2 separate regions of the Homo sapiens genome follow, and region 2 is linked to region 1. Evidence: promoter capture Hi-C in 16 types of primary human blood cells and fetal thymus (Javierre and others, 2016). All regions are on one chromosome and are shown on one strand. The core of a region is centred on a gene start or on the middle of the fragment in contact, and the rest is flanking DNA. Distances in the headings are between cores, read along the strand shown. Region 1 holds the start of BGN (biglycan). Region 2 has its middle 17 kb from the start of PNMA5.

What was found. Contacts are between HindIII fragments. The CHiCAGO score rates a contact against its expected background, and 5 or more counts as called.
Region 2: a contact is called between a fragment that was not itself captured here and the fragment with the promoter of BGN in region 1, in 13 of 17 cell types (M1 macrophages, M0 macrophages, total B cells and 10 more). The highest score is 15.3, in M1 macrophages.

The regions. Positions count from the first base shown.
Region 1 is chrX:153,491,827-153,498,873 of GRCh38, reverse strand. It overlaps BGN (biglycan), which reads right to left and starts at 3,894. Exons shown (of 8, transcript NM_001711.6): 1 at 3,761-3,894. It also overlaps a transcript of HAUS7 not described here. RefSeq lists an enhancer at 6,952-7,047. The HindIII fragment of the contact is 11,109 bases long and covers 1-5,232 here.
Region 2 is chrX:152,974,145-152,980,982 of GRCh38, reverse strand. No RefSeq gene overlaps it. Among named protein-coding and RNA genes, the nearest start is that of PNMA5, 17 kb to the left of the region's middle. The HindIII fragment of the contact is 177 bases long and covers 3,292-3,468 here.

The sequences.
Region 1 (7,047 bases), core at 2,645-5,144:
TAGCTCCCTATGGCCCACAGATCCAGAAGCCCCTCCTCAGCCCCAACACAGCCAGCAGGGCAGCCCCCGCCCAGCCTCTCACCTCTGCCTCTGTCTGCAGGGAGTCTCCTGGAAAAGCCATCGTCTCCCCAGGCGAGCACTTCAGGGCCCCAGGGAAGGTGTTCCCGGCCTGCCCCCCAGAGCCTGGGGCCCTGCCTCCCTCCCTCCCTGGTACAGGCCCACCAAGGCCAGGAGGGGAGGGGAAGGTTTCCTGCAGCCCCTCCCTGCCGCAACCCGCTCTCTGCCGGGGGCTCAGGCTGGGCTGGGATTAGCCTCCTTCAGCCAGCCAGGGTGGCCCACAGCCTGCTTAGCTTCAGGCTCCTGGGACTGCTGGGCTCCCATGGGTGTGTGTCTCTTTGCATGAGGGCAGCCTCCAAGAACCATGGGATGGCAGTCAAGGCCAAGCAGGGACTCAGACTTCCAGAGGATAGAAGTCACACTGGCTTCCCAGACTTCCCCTGCCTCCAGGGACAGGGCTGCCTTCTAATCTTCTGGCCACCCAGGAGTCTGCCCGCCATGCTCCCCTTGGCCCATCTGAACACCTCAGGGACCAAACAGGACTGGGATGGCCAGCAGAGGCAAGTTCAAGAGGCCCACAGAGTCCGTTGGGCCCCTGGTCCTCCAGCTTATCTCAGGCCAGTGTTTAAGTGGAGCTCAGGCTTAAGATGCAGTGGACCAGGAGAGTTCCATGCAAGAAGGCTGGCTAGAGCCCCAGGCCCCTAAGCCTCAGAGATGAGCCTCATGGGAATGGGCAGCACCTTCACCAGGCCTGCCAGGGAGCCGGGACCTGACCCTGCCCCTTGGGCTGGCTGGGATCAGAGCTGCGCAGGTGGGAAGCTGGGAGTGGGAGGGTTCTGCAGTCCTCGGAAGAGCCAAGGCTGGTGGCCCCTCCATAGCCACCCCAGAGGCTGCTCTGACCTAGAGCCATGACGGGGCAGGGGAAGAAGGCAAACAGCGAAACAGCGAAGGGGGCAGCTGGGATGGTTCCCAGGAGTCTAGAGTCCCAGAAGGGGCTTCTGGCTGTGGGATTCAAGTGGTGGAGGGGATCTTCTGGCCTGGAAGGGGACCTGGGGAAGGAGGAATGAAGCACAGGCCCCACCCCTCCAGAGGAGGTGGCCCCAGGCCTTCCCCAGGGAACCCTGGGAAGCTGGTTCTTTCTGGAAGGCTGCAGAAGGGCCTGGCCATGGGTCCTGGAGGCCACTTAGGCTAGGCGGGCCTCAGGCCAGGAGGACTGAGCCATGCGCCCTCCCCACAGCGCAGCCCCTCTGCACACACCCCACAGCTGGTCCCTCTAAGACTTGCGGAAAGGGCTCTGAGTGGCCGAGCTGTGGCCCCTGATCTCCCAACCCAGCATCTGAGCAGAAGAGGACAGGAGCTGGGGCACTGATCGCCCCAGGCCCGGTCGGCAGGGTGGGGGCCAGGGCCGGCAGGATCCCGGGTTGCGCTGCCTTCCGAGGGAGCCGGTGCCCACCCAGCGGCCTGCAGCCCAAGGCAGGGTGCCCTGGGAAAGCCACCGCCACCCCCAGCCCCTCGGTGTGAGCAAGACCCCCAGCTGGTGGGTCCCCACCCACCAGTGGGGCTCCCAGGCCTGTCGGGGGCTCGGTGGTGGGCCTGGATGCTAGGGGGGCAACGTGCGGCAGGGACCAAGCTCTCCGGCCCACAGATGAGTGGGAGGGGGTCGTGGTGGGCATGGGAAGACATTTCCGACAAGCAGGGGTGTTGGGGGGTGAGCAAGGCAGGGGAGGGGCCCTGGCAGGTGGGGTGCCAGGGACCCCAGGGCTGGGGCTAGGCCTGTGGGTGGGGCGTGTGCTGGGGATTCTGTGGGCCGAGGACATGTGACTCCCGGGCAGGCTGGAGATGCTGGGGGGTGGGGGGTGGGGGGTGGGCCCGGGAAGCACAGGAGACGGCAGGTGGGGAGGTCCTCATCCCACCTCTATACGGGGTGGCAAGGACTCAGAAGCCCTTGCTGAAGGCTCTGAGTGCTAACTGTCAAGTGTGAACTCATTACAAACCCCTCCTCTGGGGACTTGGCGCTGTCACTGGAAGGGACACGCTATAGCTTTGTTTGAGTGACTCTGGAATGTTGCTAAAGACAGGAAACTCATTCTTGCCTTGGAAACACCCCCCTTCCTTTCCCAGACTCCCCATCTATGCGTTGGTAGGGTTAATGCCCACTGCCGTACGGGTCCTTGGGGCTTGAAGGTGGGCCAGGGAGGCCAGGGCTGCCACCCACAGCTGGCCAGCTTGCCATGGGAGCCCTCTCTGCTCCCTGGCTCGCAACCTGCTCCCACCGCCCAGCCCTGGTGGCTTGGAGGCAGCCCTGCATCTTCCTTTCAATATACCCACACGGGCTTGCCCTCAAAGGCTCACCATGCTGGCCCACAGTGGCCATACATGGGCATGCTCCGCACCAAGACATCCATGCTCATACACCAGCTCTCCTGGGGTGCGGCTGGCACCGGCGGCTGGGTGTCACCAGGAGGTGCTCACCCGCACCCCTGGGCGCTGGTCCCCGGGAGCCTTTCTGGCACGGGGGCAGGGGGGCTGAGCATCTCCAGCTTGTCTCAGTTCCAATTAGTTGCTATAGGGCAGAGAGCTGGCAGGCCAGGGAGGGGCGAGGGCCCAGAAACAGGACCCCCTGAGGATGGGACCTGAGCAGTCTGGCAGCCAGGACAGCAGGAGAGAGGCCTGCCCACCAAGACAGACCACTGGAGACTGATGTACCCTGTGCCCTGCAGATCCCTGGGCCCCCTGCTCTGCTCAGCAGGCGCTCAGGCACCCAGCCCCGCCCATGGAGCAGTGAGGGGGCGCTCCCCTCCGTGGGCCTTCCAGGGCACTCTCTCGCTCCCTCTCCTGGGTCCCTTGGCAGGCCCCTCTGGGACCCCAAGCCAGGTCCGCCCTGGGGAGCATGGCACAGTTGCCTGATTTTCTCTCCTTCCCCTCCACACCCATTCTGAGTCCCAGTCCAAGGGGGTCCTGGAAACAGACAGGGCTGAGCCACCCAGGCACCCCCAGTCAGGGCCCTTGCAGCCAGGGCTCCCAGGACCCAGACTTCTCACAGAGGATGTAGAGGCAGAGCATTAACCTGGGGGTGAGCGAGCGAGGAACATCTGGGCAGGGTGCCTGGGGTGTGCCTGGGAAACTAAGTCTTTCAGCCCATGCCAAGGACTGGCCTCAGGCAGTGCAGCGGAGGACTGCTCCTGGGTGCTGAGCTCGGTGGGCGCTGGGCGGTCCTCCCCGATCCGACCCAACCCGGGCCAGGCGCCAAGCCCTGGAGCAAGGAGGCGCCTGGGCAGAGCGAGGCTGAGGGAGTGGAGCATGCGCCTGGGACTTGCAATGATGAAACAGGGCCATTGGCAAAGCTGGGGTACCAGTCACCCAGCCACGCTCTAGGGTGGTAGCCAAGAAGACGGACCCCGAGCGGGAGGCAGAGAGACAAGAGGTGGATGAAGCAGAGCAAGGTCAGAAGGGAGAGGGAGAGGAAGGGGTGAGGGAAAGGTGCCTGGAGGGCGGCGAGACGAGGCAGAAGCCTGACAGGGACCAAGGGGGCCGCAGGGTGGCGATGAAGGGGCGTGGATCAGCAGCCTACAGAGAGCACCGGGGAAATCTGTGGACACCCTCGCGGCACTGGGGACAGCAGGACCAGGGCTTGGGACAGCGGAGGCAGCAGAGCCAGGGGCATCTCTGGGTTGCTGAGGAGGCAGCTTGAAGCCAGCCCTACCTGGAGAGGGGAGGCGCCAGGCGCAGGCTGACTAGTTGGCGGGCTGGGGTGGTGGGCCGTCCGCACGTCTATCTGTCCGGTGTGTCCGGCGGACCGAAAGCAGCTACTCACTCCTGGGCAGTTTGTGGAGAGAGGGAGACAGAGGCGGCGGGCGGGAGGCTAAAGGCTGGGCAGGCGGGCCGACGGGGAGGGGACAGCGGGGAGAGGGCGGGGAGGGAGGAAAGGAGGGAGGGGGCTGGTGGGGCGGAGAGGGCGGGCGAGCAGGAGGGGGCAGGCTTCCCGGCCCCCCTGGCAGCTTCAAAGGGAGCAATTTTCTTGTAGACGGCTGGACTAGCTGAGCCCCCGCCCCCTCGCCCCCACCACCTCCCCCCCCCTCCCCCGCCTGGGGCAGACAGCAAAGGAACGGACACACTCGCACTCACTCAAACAAGGACCCAGAGAGTCAAACTTTCCACTGCCCAGATGGGGACACTGAGGTGCTGGCTGGCATCTCGCCAGGCAGAGGAAAGAGAGATGGAAGAAAGACGAGGGGGAGGCGGCCTTGGGCTGCTAGGCCCATGAGTGGCCCCTGGAATTTGGTCCTGAGCCTGCCAGGAACCTGCTTGGGCCTAAGCAAGGAGGTGGTTTCTCCAGGATCAGAGAGGTAGCTGTTGTGGATTTCTGGAAGGACTTCATGTAGGCTCCTGGCGCCCTGTGCCCTCCCTTCCACTCCAGACTTTCTTCCCTTAAAAAGAGGGCCCGATCCGGCTGGTGGTGGCAGGACGGGGCAGGGGGCTCCCCAGCTTGCCTGCCCTGAACTGATTCAGAGACGAAGGATCCAGCGAGTCAGTCTTCTTGCTCAATCCCTGCAGGTCCCCTCGGACATGAGAACCACTCTGTGGGTGGCCACTTCCTCTGGGCTCAGCCCTGTGCTGGTCACTTACGGGGGCTAACCGGGTTACCCCACCAAGACTCAGCCGCTTCCTGAGGGCCCAAATGAGTCCAGTTCCTCCAGTGGCTAGAGCCCAGGTCCTTAGTACGACACTGCCCCCCTGTCCCGTAGTGTCCCCTTCTTCCCTCAGCAAGAGCAGCTCCTGAGACACAGGGGTAAGAGTTTAGATGGAGTGAGAAACAGATCTGCAATAGAACTGGGGGCCAAGAGTGCGGAAGACCAAAAGAGAAAATTGCATATTGAGAGAAAAAGCTCGAAGGGGCAGAGAGGGAGAGAGGGGTGGCTAGAGAGAGGCGGCATCCAATGGAGAGAGGACAACGTCGAGGGCTGAGGGTCTTCAACCCCTGGCAGTGCCATCACTCAACCGGGGGGTGGGGTCTGGGAGGTCCCAGGCCAGGGAGGATGCTCCCAGGGGAGCTCTACCTGGGGGCATGGCAGGGCACAGACCCCCTTCCTGTTCACCAGCGGCAGCCCAGGGCCTGGCTAGGACCTGGGACGCATGGCACCTTGACCAAACTGTGGTACCTGCCTGCAAGAAGCTTCTAGACTGGGCCAGGGAGAAGAGAGACGTGGGAAACCAGGGGCCAGGCTGGTAACCCTGGTTCTCTCTTGATTTCATGGTTGGAATGAGGAGATTGGAGACCACATATGCCCTTTCCAGACAAAGGAGATGGCTTGTCTTTCGGCAGGTTTGTGTGTTTTACCTTTTGCCCAGCCTCAGCGTCCGACTCTTGGCAGCCTGGTCTCATCTCTGTCCCACCCTCTTTCCCTCCCCCACTGCCAACTCATTCGTGGAGAAATATGTCGGTAGAGAGCGGGACAGGCAGCGAAGCCTGACTAGCAGTCTGGGTGGAGAGAGAAGCATTTGGAAACATTCCGCTCAGTGACAGCAGCCAGTCGCAAAAGGCCGCAGAGCCTCTGGTTCCATTCATTTGAAATGTCCACACTAGGCTCATCTGTGGGGACAGAAAGCGGATTTGTGGGCAGTGGGTGCTAGAGGGGTGGTACCTAAAGGTATGGGTTTTCTTTTTGAGGTGATGAAAATGTTCTACAATCGACTGAGTGATGGTTGCACAGTTCTGTGAATAGACCATATAAAAGCCCTTGCCTTGTACGTGCTCAATGCGCAAATCGTGTGGTAAGCACAGCCACTCTCAGTAAAGCCGTTTCAGAAAAAAGGAGAAACCCACTCAAGGCATGCCTGCTGCCCGAGGTGCTGGTACCCAGTACCTTCCTGCACTGCTTGGGGACTGAGAACCCAGGAGCTGTCACTCAGGGCCTCAGCCTCCAGGAGTCCCAGTGGGGGTGAAACAGCTCTGAATACCGTGGGGGCGCAGGGCCATGCACAGTGCCAGAGGCTCGGGAGGGCTACCTGGAGGAGGTGACCTGGAGCAGACCAGTAGGGAAGAGGGAAGTTGCCGGTGGAAGGAAGAGCACACGTGCGGGGGGGTGTGGGGAGACACAGGGGAGCCAGGCGGCGCTGCAGTCCGGCCCTGCACCGACCTCACCCTCAGGTCTCAGCCAGGCATGTTCCTGGATGGGGGCTTGGAAGTGGCGATGAGGCGACACCCTGCTTGGGGGAGACACATTATGCATGCACCTTGCAGCTCTTACCTGAAGTTGGGGGCTGCTTCTGGGGGCAATACTCATATAAATACGGTCCTTGTACCTGGAAGGTTTTTGTATCTGTGGTTTGCAGTCTGCAATAAGCCATAACTGCACGCCCGGCCCGGGGCCCACCGAGTCACTCGGCCTGGCTAGGGCCCACTGAGTCACTCGGCCTGGCCCTCTAATTTGGGGGCCACTCCCAGACCAGACAGGCAGTACCTCAGTCCTAGGGCCTCCCCCTTCTGCTCCCCCTCCCACTCCCCCCTCCTCAGGCCTGGGCTCTCTCTGCAGCGCAGAAGGTACTTTGATCCCAGCTGAAGTGCTCTAGGAACAGTGCTTCCTTGCTAGCGAGCAGAGCTGGCGGGCGGGCAGCCTTCTGCCCTTCTGGCCTCTCAGGGCTGGGAGGAGGCAGGGGGAAGCAGGGGGAAGGCAGGCACGGGGGGCGCAAGGCAGGAAGGAAGAGCAGGCATTTCCTGAGGCCCTCAGGGATCCTGGGGAGGAGGCGGACACACAGCTGTCTTAGCTCCCCAGGAACCCGCGGCAGACAGGGAGCAGGAGGTGGGGGAAGCAGAACCCGGCCCCTTCCAGCACGGCCTGTATGTGACCCTGGGATGCCACTGCACAGGCCCCCTAGGCCCTAGCTGGGATGCTTCCCCCAAAAGGCTGTAGAGGGCCAGAAGGTCCTGCTGGCACCAGCCTTGCCTTGCATCCCAGCCCGGGAGACCCCTTCTCCTGCCGGATGGAGCCG
Region 2 (6,838 bases), core at 2,131-4,630, 520 kb after region 1:
GATTCCTCCTTCTCTGCTTGATTCTCCGCAGGACTCAGTGCCCTGGGTCCTCTTCTCTTTACTATCTACATTCACTTCCTTGGTGATCTCAGCCTGTCCATGCTTTCATTATCATTGGCAGGCTGCTTCTAAGCCCAGTTCCCTCTTAAGCTCTAGGCTTATATGTCAAAGTGCCTAACCCACATCTCCACTTGGGCAACAGAACATCTCAATACCAATTTTCCTAACACAAAACTCTGGCTCCCAAGCCACACCATTCAATCAGTGCCAAACTGCTCATAAGCTCACCCAAGATACTGGCATCACCATCTACCCAATTGCTCTGATTCCAAAACTAGACTCAGTTTGTCTTCTTCTCTTTCCCTCATAGATTCATATTCCATTATCAGCAAGTACTGCAGTTCTACTTCCAAATACATGTAAACTCCATCCACTTCTATCTCTACCACTGCCATCATTGTCCAGGCCACCGTCACTGATACTTGCAGTGCAATAGCCTCCTCTCTCTCTCCTCTTGCTCCTCTATAGTCCATTCTCCAAATATAACTCATAGTGATTTTTAAAAATCAGAAATCAAATGACATCATTTCTTTGCTCAGAAGCCATGGATGGCTTCCCATATCACTTAGACTAAAACTCAAACTTCTAACCATGGCCTGCAAACCCTACATGATCTGGCCCCCACTCTGCTGTGTGTTTACCACCCTCTAGCCCCGCTGGCTAGTCCCTCAAACACACCTGGCTCTTAATCTTATCTCAGGGCCTCTGCCCTTACTGGCCCCTCTACCTGGAAAACTTGTGGGAATGGAAATATTCTAGGCCTGTGCTGCCCAACAGGGTAGTCTCTAGCCATGTGTGGTTACTAGGCACTTGAAATGGAGCTAGTGTGACTGAGAAACTGGATTTTAAAAATGTATTTTAGTTGATTTCTATTTAAACACAAGTAGCCTAACGTGGGATGTGGAGACCATATTTAGCATGTGGAGACCAGAGCTCTAGCTCGTTCTGCTTTATAATTTTACAGAACTTGTCTGAAATCATCTATTTTATGCATTCATTTAGTCAACATTTACTGAGCACCTACTATGTGCAGGGCACTATTATAGGCACTGGGAATTCAGCAGTGGAGCAAAAGGACAAAAATCTCTCATGGAGATTTCATTTAAGTAAGGAAATACAAACAATAAAATAAGAAGAAAACATGTAGTATGTTAGATTGTGATAAGTGCTACAGAGAAAAAGCAAGGAAGCAGGTATAAGGAGTGTTATGGGTGTGCACAGAATTTTAAATTGGATGGTCCATGAAGGTGATCAGGAAGAAGGTAGCATCTGAGCAGAGATGTGAAGGACGCAAGGGAGATGGCCACGTGGGCATCTGGGAGATGAGCATTCCAGGCAGAAGAGACAACCAGCACACAGCTCAAGGCCAGAGAATGCCTGGAATGGTATGAGTAAGAAGGAAAGGTGGTGGGGGCTGGATAAAGCAGCACCTGCTTGGCCAGCCACCTTGAGGACTCTGGCTTTTAGTCCAAGTAAAATGAGGCCTGGGGAAGGTATGGAGCAGAAGAGGGATGTGATCGGATTGAAACTCTTCACTCTTGCAGCCATGCTGGGGTACACTTCAGGGTGGGAAGGAAGGAAAGATGATTGCTTAGGTTATTGTAATCATCCACATGGGGGATTAGGGGACAATATGTTTATGGTGAAGGTGGGGAGAAATGGTTTGCCTCTGGATCTGTTTGGCAGGGAGAGTTAACAGGCTAGGCTGATGGGCTGGAAGTGCAGTGGGAGATCAGCAGGTGATGTGTAGGTTTTGGTCTATGCAAGCTGAAGAATGGGACTGCCATTTACGGAGCTGTGGATGGCAATGCATAGAGCATGGCTTCCATGGTTGAGTATGAAATGACAATTAGACTCCCCAGGTGGAAATGAGCTGTGGGAAGTTGAAACACAAGTCTGAAGTTCAGGAAGATGATGTGGGCTGGAGCAGCTGCAATTCCAGAAGGAGGCAGTGTATACTGTATCTGTTGAAGCCTGGACCCCAGTGATACAACGCAGTGAGTGCAGATAGAAAAGCGAAGGGGTCTAAGAACAAAGTCCTAGAGTACTCCAAAGTTGAGAGAATGGGATGATGAGAAAGAACCAGCAATGGAGATAGAAAAGGAGTGACCAGTGAGGTGGAAGGAAAGGCAGAATGGGCCTAGAGGCCTAGCAAAGGGAATGGACCTGATATGGTTTGGCTCTGTGTCCCCATCCAAATCTAATCACGAATTGTAATCCCCACACGTCAAGGGAGGGAGCCATAATTCCCACATGTTGAGAGAGGGAGGTGACTGGATAATGGGGGCAGTTCCCCCCATGCTGTTCTCGTGATAGTGACTTCTCAGAGATGTGATGGCTTTATAAGCGTTGGCATTTCCCCTGCTTGTACTTCTCTCTCCTGCAGCCTTGTGAAGAAGGTGCCTGCATCCCCATCACCTTCTGCCATGATTGTAAGTTTCCTGAGGCCTCCCAGCCATGTGGAACTGTGAGTCGATTAAACCTCTTTCCTTTATAAATTACCCAGTCTCAGGTATTTCTTTATAGCAGTGTGAAAACAAACTAATACATGTCCACTGGACCAAACGCTGCTGCTCAGTCAATGAGGCCTGAGAAGTGTGCATGGGGTCTAGCAATGTGGTGGTCATTGGGGACCTTAGCACTAGCATTTTTAGTACCATGGTGGAGGTGAGAGCCTCAAAGAAGTGGGTTCAAAAGAAAATGAAAAAAGAGTAAAGACTTTCATGTTTATTTAGCACCTGCTTCCTATCATTGACCAGAAGGACAGGGTCTTTGATTTGTCACTGGTGTGTCCTCAGTGCCTACTATAGTGTGTGGCCCACAGTGGGTGCTCAGGAAATATTTAAATTATTAAATGGATGAATGAATGAATGATTCTTTCTCATCCTTCAGGTTTCAGTTCAGAGGTCACCTCCCCCAGAATACCATCCTTAGCCCCAGAAATCCAGGTGACACACCTCTGTGCTCCTTTAGCTATTGCGACTGAAATAGGATTGTTGCTTTGTCTTTCTCCCCATGAGATGGTCACTCCACAAATTCACAGATTGTCTGTCTTGCTCATTGATGTATCCCCAGTGCCCCACAGAAGGCTTGATGCACTGTACAAGGAAAGTGAGTAGCCTTGAGGGGTGGAGCTGAGTGCAGGGGAACATTAAAGAGGGCCTGGAAGATAGCCTCCTTTTGTATAGCAAACTCATACTAAAGCCAAATATCATGTCCTTGTGAAAAGCTTCTCTGTTAGATGTGGTGGTATGTGCATCTGTAGTCTCAGCAACTCAGGTGGCTGAGCCTGGATAACTGCTTGAGCCCAGGAGTTTGAGGTTGCAGTGAGCTACGACCATGCCACTGCTCTCCAGCCTGGGTGACAGAGTAAAAATCTGTCTCTAAAAACAAAAATGTAAAAAAGCTTCCCTGACTAAGTGTTGTGGGAAGTCAGGGACCCCGAACGGAGAGACCAGCTGGAGCCGTGGCAGAGGAACACAAATTGTGAAGATTTCATTTTAACATGGACATTTATCAGTTCCCAAAATTAGTACTTTCATAATTTCTTATGCCTGTCTTTAATCTCTTAATCCTGTTATGTTCAAAAAGAAAGGGAGAGATGTTGCGGGAAGTCAGAGACCCTGAACGGAGGGACTGGCTGGAGCCACAGCAGAGGAACATAAATTGTGAAGATTTCATTTTAGTATGGACATTTATCAGCTCCCAAAATTAATGCTTTTATAATTTCTTATGCCGGTCTTTACTTTAATCTCTTAATCCTGTTATCTTCGTAAGCTGAGAATATACATCAGGTCCACTCAGAACCACTATTGTGTTAACTGTACAAACTGATTGTAAAACATGTGTGTTTGAACAATATGAAATCAGTGCACCTTGAAAAAGAACAGAGTAACAGCGATTTTTAGGGAACAAGGGAAGACAACCATAAGGTCTGACTGCCTGTGGGGTCGGGCAGAATAGAGCCATATTTTTCTTCTTGCAGAGAGCCTATAAACAGACGTGTGCAAGTAGGGAAGATATCACTAAATTCTCTTCCTAGCAAGGAATATTAATAATTAAGACCCTGGGAAAGGAATGCATTCCTGGGGGGGGAGGTCTATAAACGGCCGCTCTGGGAGTGTCTGTCTTATGAGGTTGAGATAAGGATAGAAATACGCCCTGGTCTCCTGCAGTACCCTCAGGCTTACTAGGATTGGGAAACCCCCAGCCCTGGTAAATTTGAGGTCAGACTGGTTCTCTGCTCTTGAACCCTGTTTTCTGTTAAGATGTTTATCAAGACAATACATGCACAGCTGAACATAGACCCCTATCAGGAGTTCTGATTTTGTCCTTGCTCTGTTTCCTCAGAAGCATGTGATCTTTGTTCTGCTTTTTGCCCCTTAAAGCATGTGACCTACTCCCCATTTGTACACCCCCTCCCCTTTTGAAATCCTTAGTAAAAACTTACTAGTTTTGTGGCTCAGGTGGGCATCACAGTCCTACCAATATGTGATGTCACCCCCGGAGGCCCAGCTATAAAATTCCTCTCTTTGTACTCTTTCTATTTCTCAGCTGGCTGACATTTATGGAAAACAGAAAGAACTTACGTTGAAATATTGGGGGCGGGTTCCCCCGATAACCAAGCAGCCCAGAGTAGGTCACTATATTATAGCATATAGGTCAAGGCTGCAGTGAGGGCCTTGACCCTGTCTCCAAAACATACCCTGTATGTTTTGTTCAGAGCACTTATCACAACAGTATTTTGTTGTGGGATGTTTGATTTACTCCTCTCCTCTTACACTGTGAGCTCCACAGAAATACAAACTGTGTCTACTTTACTGGGGCCCCCACGTCTGGCACATGGGTAGACATCCAATCAATGCTTGTTGAGTGATTAAGTGACCAACTGGAACATCAAGGTGCTGATCAAAAGAAGGCATCGATGGGCAGAAGACATTTGTGGGAGGAGATACTGAAGCAGGGGGATCTGCCAAGGGCACTACAGGCAGAGGACATGATAAGGAGGTGATCTGGCAGCCAAGCATTATGCATGCCACGTTGCAGCAAGCTCACAACTGGACAGCTAGCACAATGCGGAGCACAGTGTACAGTGGGCCTCAGAAATGAAGAGCAATGTGCAGCAGACTTTCAGAGAGAGGGAGAGGCAGTTCTCAAGCAGGGTGCATTATTCAGAGAGGCTGTGAAGGCAGAGGGCAGAGTGGACAGTGGTCACAGGCAGTGACCGCAGCTGTGCAGGGAGAACCCCATGAAGAACACATTCACAGCAAAGCACAGGGCTATAAAACAAGCCTGCACAAATTTTAAAATGTTGAAGTTATGCAAAGTGTGTTAACCTACCATAATGGAATGAAATTAGAAACTGATAACTGAAGGAAATTTGGGGAACCCACATTAAACAACAAACTCCAAAATAACCAGTGGATCAAATAAGAAGTGATAAGGGGAATTAGAAAACCTTTGAGATGAATGAAAAGGAAAACACAACATGCAGCTAGAGAAGTGCTCACAGAACAATTTCCAGCTGTACATGCATACATTCAAGAAGAAAGATATTGGCCGGGCATGGTGGCTCACACTTGTAATCCTAGCACTTTGGGAGGTCAAGGTGGGAAGACTCATTGAGCCCAGGAGTTCTAGACCAGCCTGGGCAACATGGCCAAACCCCACCTCTACAAAAAAATTCAAAGGAAAAAATTAGCCAGGCATGGTGGCACGTGCCTGTAGTCCCAGCTACTCAGGAGGTTTAAGTGGCAGGATTGCCTGTGCCCAGGAGGTCAAGGCTACAGTGAGCCATGACTGTGCCACTGCACACCAGCCTGGGAACAGGGTAACACCCTGTCTCAAAAAAAAAAAAAAAAAAAAAAAAGAAAGAAGGATCTCCAATCAATAACCTAACTTTACAACTTAAAGGAACTAGAAAAAGAAGAGCAAAGTAAATCCAAAGCAAGTAGAAGGGAAGAAATGACAAAGATTAAAGGTGACATTAATGAAACAGAGAGCAGAAAATAATAGAAAAAAATCAATAAAATGATTTTTTTTTAAAAAAGTCAATGATGTGGTTCTTTACAAACAAGAAAATCAACAGACCTTAAGTAAGACTAACTAAGCAAAGCACACTATGGCAAGGGCAATTACAGGCAGAAGCCCTTGTGCAGATAGGCCTCATTGGCTGGGCCCTAGGTGATGAACAAACTCAGCAGCAGAGATCAGAGAGCAGAAGGCATCTGCAGGTAGAAGGCACTGTGCAAGGAGCCAGGAGCAGAAGGCATTAGGAGGCAGAGGACAGTGGGAAGAAGGCATTCAGAAGCAGGTTTGGGACCTTCACAGGCAGAGGATACTGTACAGAGAAGTTTCACAAGAGGAATACATTCTGGGGAGGAAAATCCACAGGCCAAACACAATCCTAAGCAAGGAGCAGTCCCCAGAGGACATAGAGATGCATGGGTAGGAGACCGTCACAGATACAAACCTGGGATAGAAAGGAGGAGTCATGGTAATGGAGGAGGCCCAACAATAGGATCGACTTGCTGTTTCAGAATGACCCTCCCCTATTTTTCCTTTAGGTCTTTGTGTCACACTGTCACCAATTAAAAGTCCTACAAATACCTAGTTAGGAGCTACTGTTGCAGTCCTTGTCATTTGAATTAGTAAAAGCTCTTCCTTCCTTCCCATTGTAACAAGATGAAGGCCAAAGTTGGGGTGAGAAAATAGCTAGAGGGACACTAGTCCAATGGCCCTGAGGCCCCTACTCAGTGGCAGAAGGAGTTCTCGGAGT